2 separate regions of the Homo sapiens genome follow, and region 2 is linked to region 1. The links are contacts of gene promoters, found by promoter capture Hi-C in human tissues and cell types (Jung and others, 2019). All regions are on one chromosome and are shown on one strand. Each heading gives the region's core, a stretch centred on a gene start or on the middle of the fragment in contact. The rest is flanking DNA. Distances are from core to core; before and after follow the strand shown. Region 1 holds the start of IFNA8 (interferon alpha 8). Region 2 has its middle 4.4 kb from the start of IFNA17.

Region 1 (5,118 bases), core at 918-3,417:
TCAAAAGCTGAAGAACTTGGAGTCTGATTTCAAAGGCAGGAAGCATCCATCAGAAAGATGAAGGCCAGAATACTCAGCAAGTCTCCTCTTCCATCTTCTCCTCCCTACTTAATTCTAGCCATGCTGGCAGCTGATTAGATGGTGCCCACAGTGACTGAGTGTGGGTCTGCCTCTCGCAGTTCACTGACTCAAATTTTAATCTCCTTTGGCAATACCCTCACAGACACACCTAGGAACAACACTTTGCATCCTTCAATTCAATCAGGATAACACTCAATGTTAACCATCACAACAGATAACATGCAATATACTGATCTTCTGAGTTTATCTGTCTACTAGTGGAGAACTTGAGATAATTATACTTGTCCATTCTACAGACAGAATATTGTGCTCTTACAAATTTGCCTTTCTGGTGCACAGTGTCTTATGTTTGGTTCATCACCCTCAACTGTCTAGTAAGGCTGAATTCACTAAAGCTGAAAACATCCCCTTGGACCAGTAATGATTACTTTTCTTTGAGCTCCTGCCCATTTGCTACCTTTGTTCTACATCTCTTGCACCATTTTGCTTCTGCTCTTCCTCACCCCTTAATGTCCATCTAATCTGGGCTGAATATCCAAGTTATATTTTGTTAGTTGTTTTTCTCCTTTGGGATGTTACTTCCATTCTTATGTTTTTATCACATTTAGTTATACATTTGTTTTCTTTTTGCTCTCATTTATTGGGATACAAAAAGCAACAACTTTTGCTTTCTGTGAAAAAGGAAATGAGAAAGATATCTGGTATCCTGCATGCTATGTACAACAATTGCACACCTCATTTACTTTATCATACTTAGATATTATTATTTACCTTAGGAAACAGATGGCTTTTTTTATTTTATAAGAATGAACTAGAATTGGGATGTCCCCAGGTTCTTTGGGAAATCTAAACATTAATGCAAAAATTGTTTTGAAAAATATAATTGATGTTTTCTCAATTGTGTATTCTCATTGGGGATGATATTGCTCCTAAGGGCACAAACCTTAGTTCTTGTGGTGTGAACAAATTGTAGATATTATATTCGTTTATGGCCCCTCAATGCAGAACTCTAAGACAACCCTATCCTGTAGTGTTTATTTTCTTTCACTTGGTTTTCTTATGTATTACATGAAAAGACTGATATTGAGTTCATGGAAGATACACAAAATGTATGTGAGATTAGTGTTGCAAACCAATGTGAAATAGATGGTTGTCACTGGTGGACTTTCCACTATGTGCTCAATCTCAGAGTCATACCATGTGATGTGGTCTCCATCGGCATATGAATGGGCTGCCATTGGCTGTCTTGGGTATGTAGCTTATGTTTGATCCTCAGTGCTTTCAAGTGTATTATACTCTTTTATACAAATGTTTTTATTTTATGATTAAATTGTATAAAACTTTTTCAAACATCACTACTTATAGGAAGTGCTGAAAAGAAAAATATGTTGACTATATCTGGATGAAAATCTAGCAGTTAGTGAAGGTAAAAATCATTTTCTATATGAAGCAAAGCTAAAAGTTAAGTATAATAAATTAAATGTTACAGGAATAATTTAATTTTAAATAGCCCCTTAGCAGTTTTGGGAGATTTTTAAGTATTTTTATTTTTTTGATATTACATATTTTATATAAGTATTTTTATTATATTGGTATTATATATTTTCATATATTATAACTTTGCATGTTTCACTTGATTCATTAATATTTATATAAGTATATATACTAGAAGTCACTCAGCAAATAACTTTTATAAAGTTAAATGCCAATAGCTTTTAAATTTAACTTTTGACATAAAATTTTTACTTATTCTTAATGCTGCATTGCATAAAAAAGTAAACTGTCCACTTTGTTTTCTAAAGCATGGATAGGAATGTAGTACATTCAAATATGTGCATAATATATCTGTGTTATTAAATTATCAGGAGGGGTTTACTTAGAAAAAAATTATCAAACAGGACTCTGGAGGTTGAGAAAGGGAATGCAGTAATGAAAAGAAAACTGGTTGAGAAACACTTTCCTAAGCCCATGTAGAGAGTACATAAAGGAAAGCAAAAACAGAAGTAGAAAAAAAAAATGCAGTAGCATTCAGAAAATGGAAACAAATATGTTCCCTATATAAGGCGGTGTACAAACCAAAGTCTTCAGAGACCCAGGTTAAGGGTCATCCATCTGAACCAGCTCAGCAGCATCCACAACATCTACAATGGCCTTGACTTTTTATTTACTGGTGGCCCTAGTGGTGCTCAGCTACAAGTCATTCAGCTCTCTGGGCTGTGATCTGCCTCAGACTCACAGCCTGGGTAACAGGAGGGCCTTGATACTCCTGGCACAAATGCGAAGAATCTCTCCTTTCTCCTGCCTGAAGGACAGACATGACTTTGAATTCCCCCAGGAGGAGTTTGATGATAAACAGTTCCAGAAGGCTCAAGCCATCTCTGTCCTCCATGAGATGATCCAGCAGACCTTCAACCTCTTCAGCACAAAGGACTCATCTGCTGCTTTGGATGAGACCCTTCTAGATGAATTCTACATCGAACTTGACCAGCAGCTGAATGACCTGGAGTCCTGTGTGATGCAGGAAGTGGGGGTGATAGAGTCTCCCCTGATGTACGAGGACTCCATCCTGGCTGTGAGGAAATACTTCCAAAGAATCACTCTATATCTGACAGAGAAGAAATACAGCTCTTGTGCCTGGGAGGTTGTCAGAGCAGAAATCATGAGATCCTTCTCTTTATCAATCAACTTGCAAAAAAGATTGAAGAGTAAGGAATGAGACCTGGTACAACACGGAAATGATTCTTATAGACTAATACAGCAGCTCACACTTCGACAAGTTGTGCTCTTTCAAAGACCCTTGTTTCTGCCAAAACCATGCTATGAATTGAATCAAATGTGTCAAGTGTTTTCAGGAGTGTTAAGCAACATCCTGTTCAGCTGTATGGGCACTAGTCCCTTACAGATGACCATGCTGATGGATCTATTCATCTATTTATTTAAATCTTTATTTAGTTAACTATCTATAGGGCTTAAATTAGTTTTGTTCATATTATATTATGTGAACTTTTACATTGTGAATTGTGTAACAAAAACATGTTCTTTATATTTATTATTTTGCCTTGTTTATTAAATTTTTACTATAGAAAAATTCTTTATTTATTCTTTAAAATTGAACTCCAACCCTGATTGTGCAAACTGATTAAAGAATGGATGGTACAATTCCTTTATCCATGCTTATTACATTCAAATTATAAGTAAAAATGAACTTTGTCTAAATTAGGTTGTATGTTGCCCTCAAGATATCCAGGTGAACATAACAAATACAATTCCCGCTCTCTCATATCTTTGTTTTTTGTTGGGAAAGAAAACTAAAAACAGTAATCATACTTAATATCAGTTATGTCTAATGCTATCATGAGAAGAAAGAACCAATGAATTTATCTCACCAGAAGGTAGACCAAGGCATGTGAGGAAATAAAAATAAACGCAGAGATATCCTCTATATGCTAACTGGTAGACATCTAAGTGAAAATGTGCACTACCAGTTGGATATATGAGTTTGCAATTAATAAGGAATGCAATTGCTAGAGGTTCATATGCAGTAACTGAAAGCCCAGAAATGGAGGATCTCATGTGGGGAGAGAGTGTCGAGGGAGAAAATGGCTTAAACGTGATTCTGAGGACCTTCCACACTTAAGAAAGGAAAGAGAAGAGCCACAAAGAAACAGATGGAAAGGCCACACATTAGAAGGACAACAGGAGAAAATACTAGGAAAAAAAGTTTAAGAAAATTAATATTCTTAAAAGAGTTATCAGTAGATTTACAGAAGATATACATTGAAACTGTCCACTACCTCGGGAAAATAGATGGCACTGGCAACCTTATGAGAGTTATTATGGTAAAATAAATCAGAACAAACCATACTGTAGTGGCTGGAAGTATAAATAAGAGAAGTTAGTGACTCTGAAGAGGGCAAAAAAATAGGATGTGATGGGGGAAAGAATGTGAGTTACTTTTTCTGTGCATAGTATTTCCTTTATTAATATTTTTCTGGATAGATTTCATGTAACTGATGTACTAGCAAATCATATTAATATACTTAATATATTATTTTAAATCATGATATATTATTTACAATTATAATTTATTATTGTTTTAATTAATACTACTTTGGCTATCAGTAAGCTACCTAGTTTCTGTTCATCTGTTAGGGAGTAAGAGATAACTAATTCGATCCTTCACCGAAATAATTAATGATGATAATATAATGACACCTGGAAGTATTGGCCTTATTTGTTGTTAACTTGCATCATTGTCACACTGGTTTACTACAGTTCTTCTGCACCTTTACAATCCATCTTAATTTCTTGTAGTGCTAGATATAAGAATTCTTTTATGTTACACTTTGGTAATTCTTCCTGATTTCATGAATATTGTAGTCTTAGATCAATCCAGAAAGAACCGAATTACTATGGACATAAAGACTGACAAACATCCTTCACAAAATAAAAGTGGGAAACAATCAGAGACTTTCTTTCTCAATACGTAAGGTAAAGAAAAAAACTGGTCAACATCAAGTGAAAATACATGAACCACGCATATTCAGAGAGCAAGGAAGAGTTATGTATAATTCATGAATAAAAGGAGATTTAGCAATTATGACAGAAATCTGGAATACAAAACTGACAAAATCACCCATCAATTACATTAAAGAATTTGATACTGAAATTTCATTCTGCTGGGAGGTAGGTGTATTGTTGATCATTCTGCTTAATCTCTTTGAGCCTTAGTTTTCTCATAGAGCCTTAGTTTTCTCATAAATAAAATGGTTTCAAAATATTTATATAGTTGTGAGTATTAAAGGAACACATGCATTTTAAAGCACCTACGATAATATCTTTTATCGAATAAGGAGTTAAACTATGGTAGGTATTTTCCTATTTTTCTTCATACAGCTGTAGATGGTAATATTATTTGTCTTTTTATAAAATTCTTAGGAACTATGTCCTATATTTTAGTAACGGACCTCCAATGGAAGGAGATTAAGAAAATGAGAATTCTAGAGAGGCTGAAAAATTGTCAATCCTCATTTCAAA
Region 2 (5,327 bases), core at 1,979-4,478, 180 kb before region 1:
CTATTTATGACTTCATCTCTAATCTGTCCTCTACTTTGTGATAATAGAAAATAAGTAGCCTGGTGTCAAATACAGAGTCACATATCTAAATTCAAACTCTCCAATTCACACAGTTTATAGGAATCAGACAATTTACTATTCCCAAAAGTATGGAATAATAGCCTCTCTCCCCCAAATAATCCTACAGCTTTCCTTCCCTGGATCAAATCCCAAGAATGTGTATGTGAATTGTAAAGACTTGTGACATCATTTTTCCATCATTTATAAATTTCAGATTCAAATCTCGTGATAATCTTTAGATGACACTGGTAGAAAATGAGCTGGTTTATATGAGGTAGAAATTATGAAATGGATCAATTTTAGAAAATAACCAAACACATTTTATTATTCATTATTTTAAATGATTCACTTAAATTCTTTATATCATTGAACAATTAAAATATTCTACATTACGAAATGTGCACAGGGGTTTCCATACTAGAGGAGCCTTCATTTCAGGAATGTATATTTTGTACATTGATTTAGTAGTTGATCCAGTCAACACATTTTTATTGAATTTTGGGCTCATCCTTTTATTAGACCCTGAGAATACAGGGCAATTTTGCCCGAGTTATTATTCTTAGTCTTTGAAACACTGGGGGAGAGAGTATTTTTTCTTTGTTCACTTGAGATTGTATTGGGAATTTTTGCATATTCATTTTTTATGTTGTATTCTACCGTGAAAATTGGTTTTTCTATACTTTGATTTCTTTCATTTTCACATTCACGTTAGTGTCAATGAAAGAATACAAATATAATTTTTAAATGGACTATACAATGATTCTATGTGGCGTTCTATGTGGCATTCACAACAGCAAATATATTTATATTTCTCACTTCACTTTTCCTACAAGGTAAAAGTGGTCTGATTTTTCATCTTAATTTATGGGCACAAAAAGAAAACAAATGTAGGTCTAAAAGTGATAAACATGTAAGAGGAGAAATACCTTATGTAAATGACAAGTTAATGGGTACAGCAAACCAACATGGCACATACTTGCACGTTGAGCACATTTACCCTGGAACTTAAAGTATAGTAAAAAAAAAATGCCCAGAGGGGAACTTAGAAAATATCTTGAGAGAGATGAAAATGAAAACACAACATACCAAAACATATGTGATGCAATGAAAACAGAGGTAGAGGGGAAAATGAAAGCTGTAAAAGCTTATATTAAAAAAGAAGAAAGACCTCAAACGAATGAACTAACTTTACAAGTTAAGGAACTAGAAAAAGAAGGAATAAACACATAGTAAGGAAGAGGAAGAAAATAAGAAAGACTAAAGCAGACCCCAGGTCTTCATCCTTACTTCTCAGTCCTTGCAAGTTTGTTGATGAAGAGAAGGATTTCATGATTCCACTCTGAGAACCTCCCAAGCACAGTCACTGTATTTCTTCTCTTTCAGGTAGATTCTCTGGATTCCCATGGATTCCCTGGAAGTACCTCCTCAAGGCCAGTGTAGGGCCACAATCACCCCTACAGATTCTTCCTCTCCTATTGCCTGCCCTAAGCAAGACTCCAGGCATCCTAGCTACAGATGAAATCCAGTGTGGAGCTGGTCCAGGAGGGTCATGTTCCAGGCAGCAGAGGAGCACTCTGTGGGGTAGACGCTGAAGATCTGCTGAAGCATCTCATGGAGGACAGACAGGGCCTGGGCCTTCTGCAACTGGCTGCCATCCACATCTCCAGGGGGAACCTGAAGTCTCTTCTGTCCTTGAGACACAAGAAAGTGGAGATTCTCTGCATTTGGCCCAGAAGAGCCAAGGTGTTCCTGCTAAGTAGGCCATGGTTCTGAGGCAGGTCAAAGCCCAGAGATCCAACAGGGCCACAGTGGCAAAGCAGCAGGGCCACCAGTAGAAGCAGTAGGACCATTGGGAAACGAGGGTGCTGCTGGCCTAGCTGAGCTGGGGTCTGGATGAACCCTGGACTCCAGGTTCTCTCAAGGCATTCTTTTTATGCATGGCTTATAGTTGGAAACAAATAGTTTTCAGGGTTGGCCAAGACGGCCACCTAGAAGCTGCTAGTGTGTGCCACTCTCGTGGAGAGAAATGGAAGGGGCAAGTAAATACAGCACCTTCAACTGAAACATCCAGGTACACACATTGGGACTCAACAGCTTGACCCATGGAGAACAGAGCAAAGCAAGGCAGGACGACTGCCCACCAAGGAGTGTCACAGAGCCAGGGGAGCCTCTCCTTCCCAGGGAAGTGGTAAGTCAGCAGCCCTGGGGACCCATGCTTCTCTCACGGATCTTTGCAATCCTCAGATCAGGAGATCTCCTAGTGAACCCACTCTACCAGAGCCTTCAGTCTGACATGCAGGGCTACGTAGGGTTTCAGCAGAGCAGCTGCTCAGGCATGCATGGGTACCCTGGAGCCTTAGATACCCAGGCTTCCCCACAAAAGAAGCTATAACTCCAGCCAAGCAGGACGCTAGACCCCTATACATACCCCTAGGAAAGGGGTTTCATTCAGGGTGCTGGGCAGTGACAAGTGGCAGGCCCACCTTCCATGGCCTGTCTCAGGGTAAGACCCACTGGCTTGGGAATCCAGCCAGACACTGGTAGCAGCGTCACACCTCCCTGACATGGAGCTCCCACCGGCAGGGTGTGGGCTGCTATCTTTGCTGTTTCACAGCCTTAGCTATTGGAGCCTTTGTGTTCTAGGGAGTCCAAGGCAGCTAGGGACTGGAGCAGCCACCCAGCACAGCCCAGCAGCTCTACAGAGAAGCAGTCAGATTGCTTATTCACATCGATCCCAAATCCTGTTTCTTTTCTGTAGGTGGAATCTCCCCACTGGGGTCTCCAGTCACCTCCACCACTGTTTTCTAGTGGACCGCAGTTTCGAATATCCCTGGGATGGCGCTCCCAAAGGGAAGGGTAGGTAGCCTTTGTTGCCGTTTAGCAGCCTTAGCCATTCTTGAAAATGCCATTCTTCGTGCTGGCGGTGGTAGCAGACCCCCAGCACAGCACAGCTGCTCTACCAAAAAGTGGCCAGACTGTTTTTTCACCTGAGTCCCTGATACTGTTTCTCCTCAGTGGGTGAGATATCCCCACCGGGGTCTCCAGCCACCTCCTGCATGTATGTTGCAGGAGGCAACAGGTTGTACCTCTCTGGAACAGAGCTCCCAGGGGGAGGGGCAGGCCCTCATCTTCACTGTTTCATAGCCTTCACTGTTGATATCTTCAGGTACTGAAAAATGTGAAGTGACTATGGTCTGGATTGGACCCCCAGCATATTGCAGCAGCCCTATGGAAAAGTGGCCAGATTGTGTGTTATGTCGGTCCGTGATCCCCTCTCTCTTCACTGGGTGGGTCTGCCAGGCTTGGGTCTGCAGCTACCAGTTGGGGCTATTGAGCCAATGACAGCTCTGCATCTCCCTGGAACAGAGCTCCCAGTGAGAAGGGTGGGTTGCCATCTTTGCTTTCTCACAGCTCTTGCCCTTGCTGTCTCCAGGCTCTGGAGAGTCTGTAGGGAACAGTGGCTGGTCCAGATCCCCAAAACAGAGCAACTGCCTCACAGAAGAGTGACCATACTGTTCTCCATACAGTTCCTGGTTGTCACCTCTCCTCTGTGGGCAGATCCACCTGACCAGACTCCAGCACAGGCACCCTTCCCCTGCCTCATCTCCTCAATCAGGCAGTCCAGCATTTCTCAAAGGAAGAAATCCTACAGTCAACCCACAACCCATCCACCACTACTGTTGCAGTGGGACAGCCCCAGCAGCCCTCTGGCTGGGGAAGGAACAAAGGGCCTAGTCACTACACTCTCACCTCCAGCACACCATAGCCACCATACAAAGAGGAGTCCAGCCTTTCTTCCCTGAGAATCTGCATCCCTATTCTTCAGGAGGCAGGGCCCCCAGCCCATGACTGCAAAACAGTCAACCTACCCATAGCTGAGCATATCCACTGGTAGTTGCCTGGAGTTTCCCTGGGGAGAGGCTCCCACAGCCATCCTACCTCTGCCACTGCCACAGCAGCAGTTTTATCCCTGCTGCCTTGGGTCTGGGGAAGAAACAAAGAGTCTGAAGCTCTTTGTTTACGAGCTTGCAGCAAGCCACTGTCACATGAACTTACAGCACACTGCAGTTACCATATGGTGAGAACAGTCTCTCCTCCTGGTAAGATTGCCACCTTCTATTACCCAAAAAGTGAAGCCCCAAGCTTACACCAGCAGTGCAGCCACCCCACTCCTCTGGCTAAACACTGCCATTAACATGGCTTCACATTTCTTGGAGGTGGAGACCCCAGGGGCAACAGAAAGCCTGTCTACCACTGCCTCTGCAGTGGTACTACCCCAGCTACCTTGGAACTGATGAAGGAGCAGAGACCTCAAGTACCTTATCCATACCTCCAACAAGCTGCCGTCAACCCAAGAGAGGAGGCCAGTCTGTCTGCCATTGGTCAATCACCCACCCCTCACATCACCAGGCAGGGAACCCCTGGCTTGGGCCCACAGGACACACTCCCATCCCACGCTGATTGCACTGAGTGACTGCTGACCTGCTTCTCTGTGGTGGAGCCCCCCGGAGACAAGCAAAAGACCCTCAGTTACAACAACTACTAAGGTCCCTTCCTTCGATGGCTCCAAGTTGGGGAGAAAACATTAACCCTGAGATCACCCCAGAGCTGTTGTGGGCAGCCTGGGAGTGCCAAGATACAAGGTACAGTCAGCACTCAAGTGGGAGAGGAGCCCAAACTTTCAAAGCATTGAGATGGAGCACGTGTACAACCGTGAGGAAATGTAGGTGAGCCCCATGACTGAGCAAGAGCCTGACAACTGACCACTGCACCTAAGAGTCACCTACTAGGTCATGCCCAAAGCTTCAACACCAACAAATCTCACTAACACACCCTCATTCAACCAAAGACATGTCAGCTACAAATAAAGACCCTGCACAAAGCTACAGCCCTGTGAACACAGCCAGAAAATAAGTCTCTTTATTGATTGAACTCAAGCTACACTCCCATATGCAGAGATGAGAAAGAACCAATGCAAGAACTACAGTAACTCAAATGGACAGAGCATCTTATGTCCTCCAAATAATCACACTAGTTCTCCAACAAGGGTTCTTAACCAAAATGAGTTAGCTAAAATGACAGAAATATAATTCAGAATAGGGATAGAAAGGAATTCCATTGAGATTCAGGAAAACAGTAAAACCTAAACCAAGGAAACTAAGAATCACAATCAAAAGAGAGAAGAGTTGATAGCCAAATAGCCAGTATGAAAAAGAACCTAACGGACCTAGTAGATGTACACACTACAAGAATTTCACAATGCAATC

What was found. The method cuts DNA at HindIII sites, captures the fragments that hold promoters and counts their contacts. A contact is called where the count stands out against the background at its distance.
Region 2: a fragment that was not itself captured here is called in contact with the fragment with the promoter of IFNA8 in region 1 in 1 of the 25 tissues and cell types used here (lymphoblastoid cells).

What each region holds. Positions count from the first base shown.
Region 1 is chr9:21,406,950-21,412,067 of GRCh38, forward strand. IFNA8 (interferon alpha 8) reads left to right here and starts at 2,168. Exons shown (of 1, transcript NM_002170.4): 1 at 2,168-3,236. The coding sequence starts at 2,228. The coding sequence ends at 2,797. The HindIII fragment of the contact is 21,883 bases long and covers 1-5,118 here.
Region 2 is chr9:21,229,944-21,235,270 of GRCh38, forward strand. It overlaps the pseudogene IFNWP5. Among named protein-coding and RNA genes, the nearest start is that of IFNA17, 4.4 kb to the left of the region's middle. The HindIII fragment of the contact is 6,389 bases long and covers 35-5,327 here.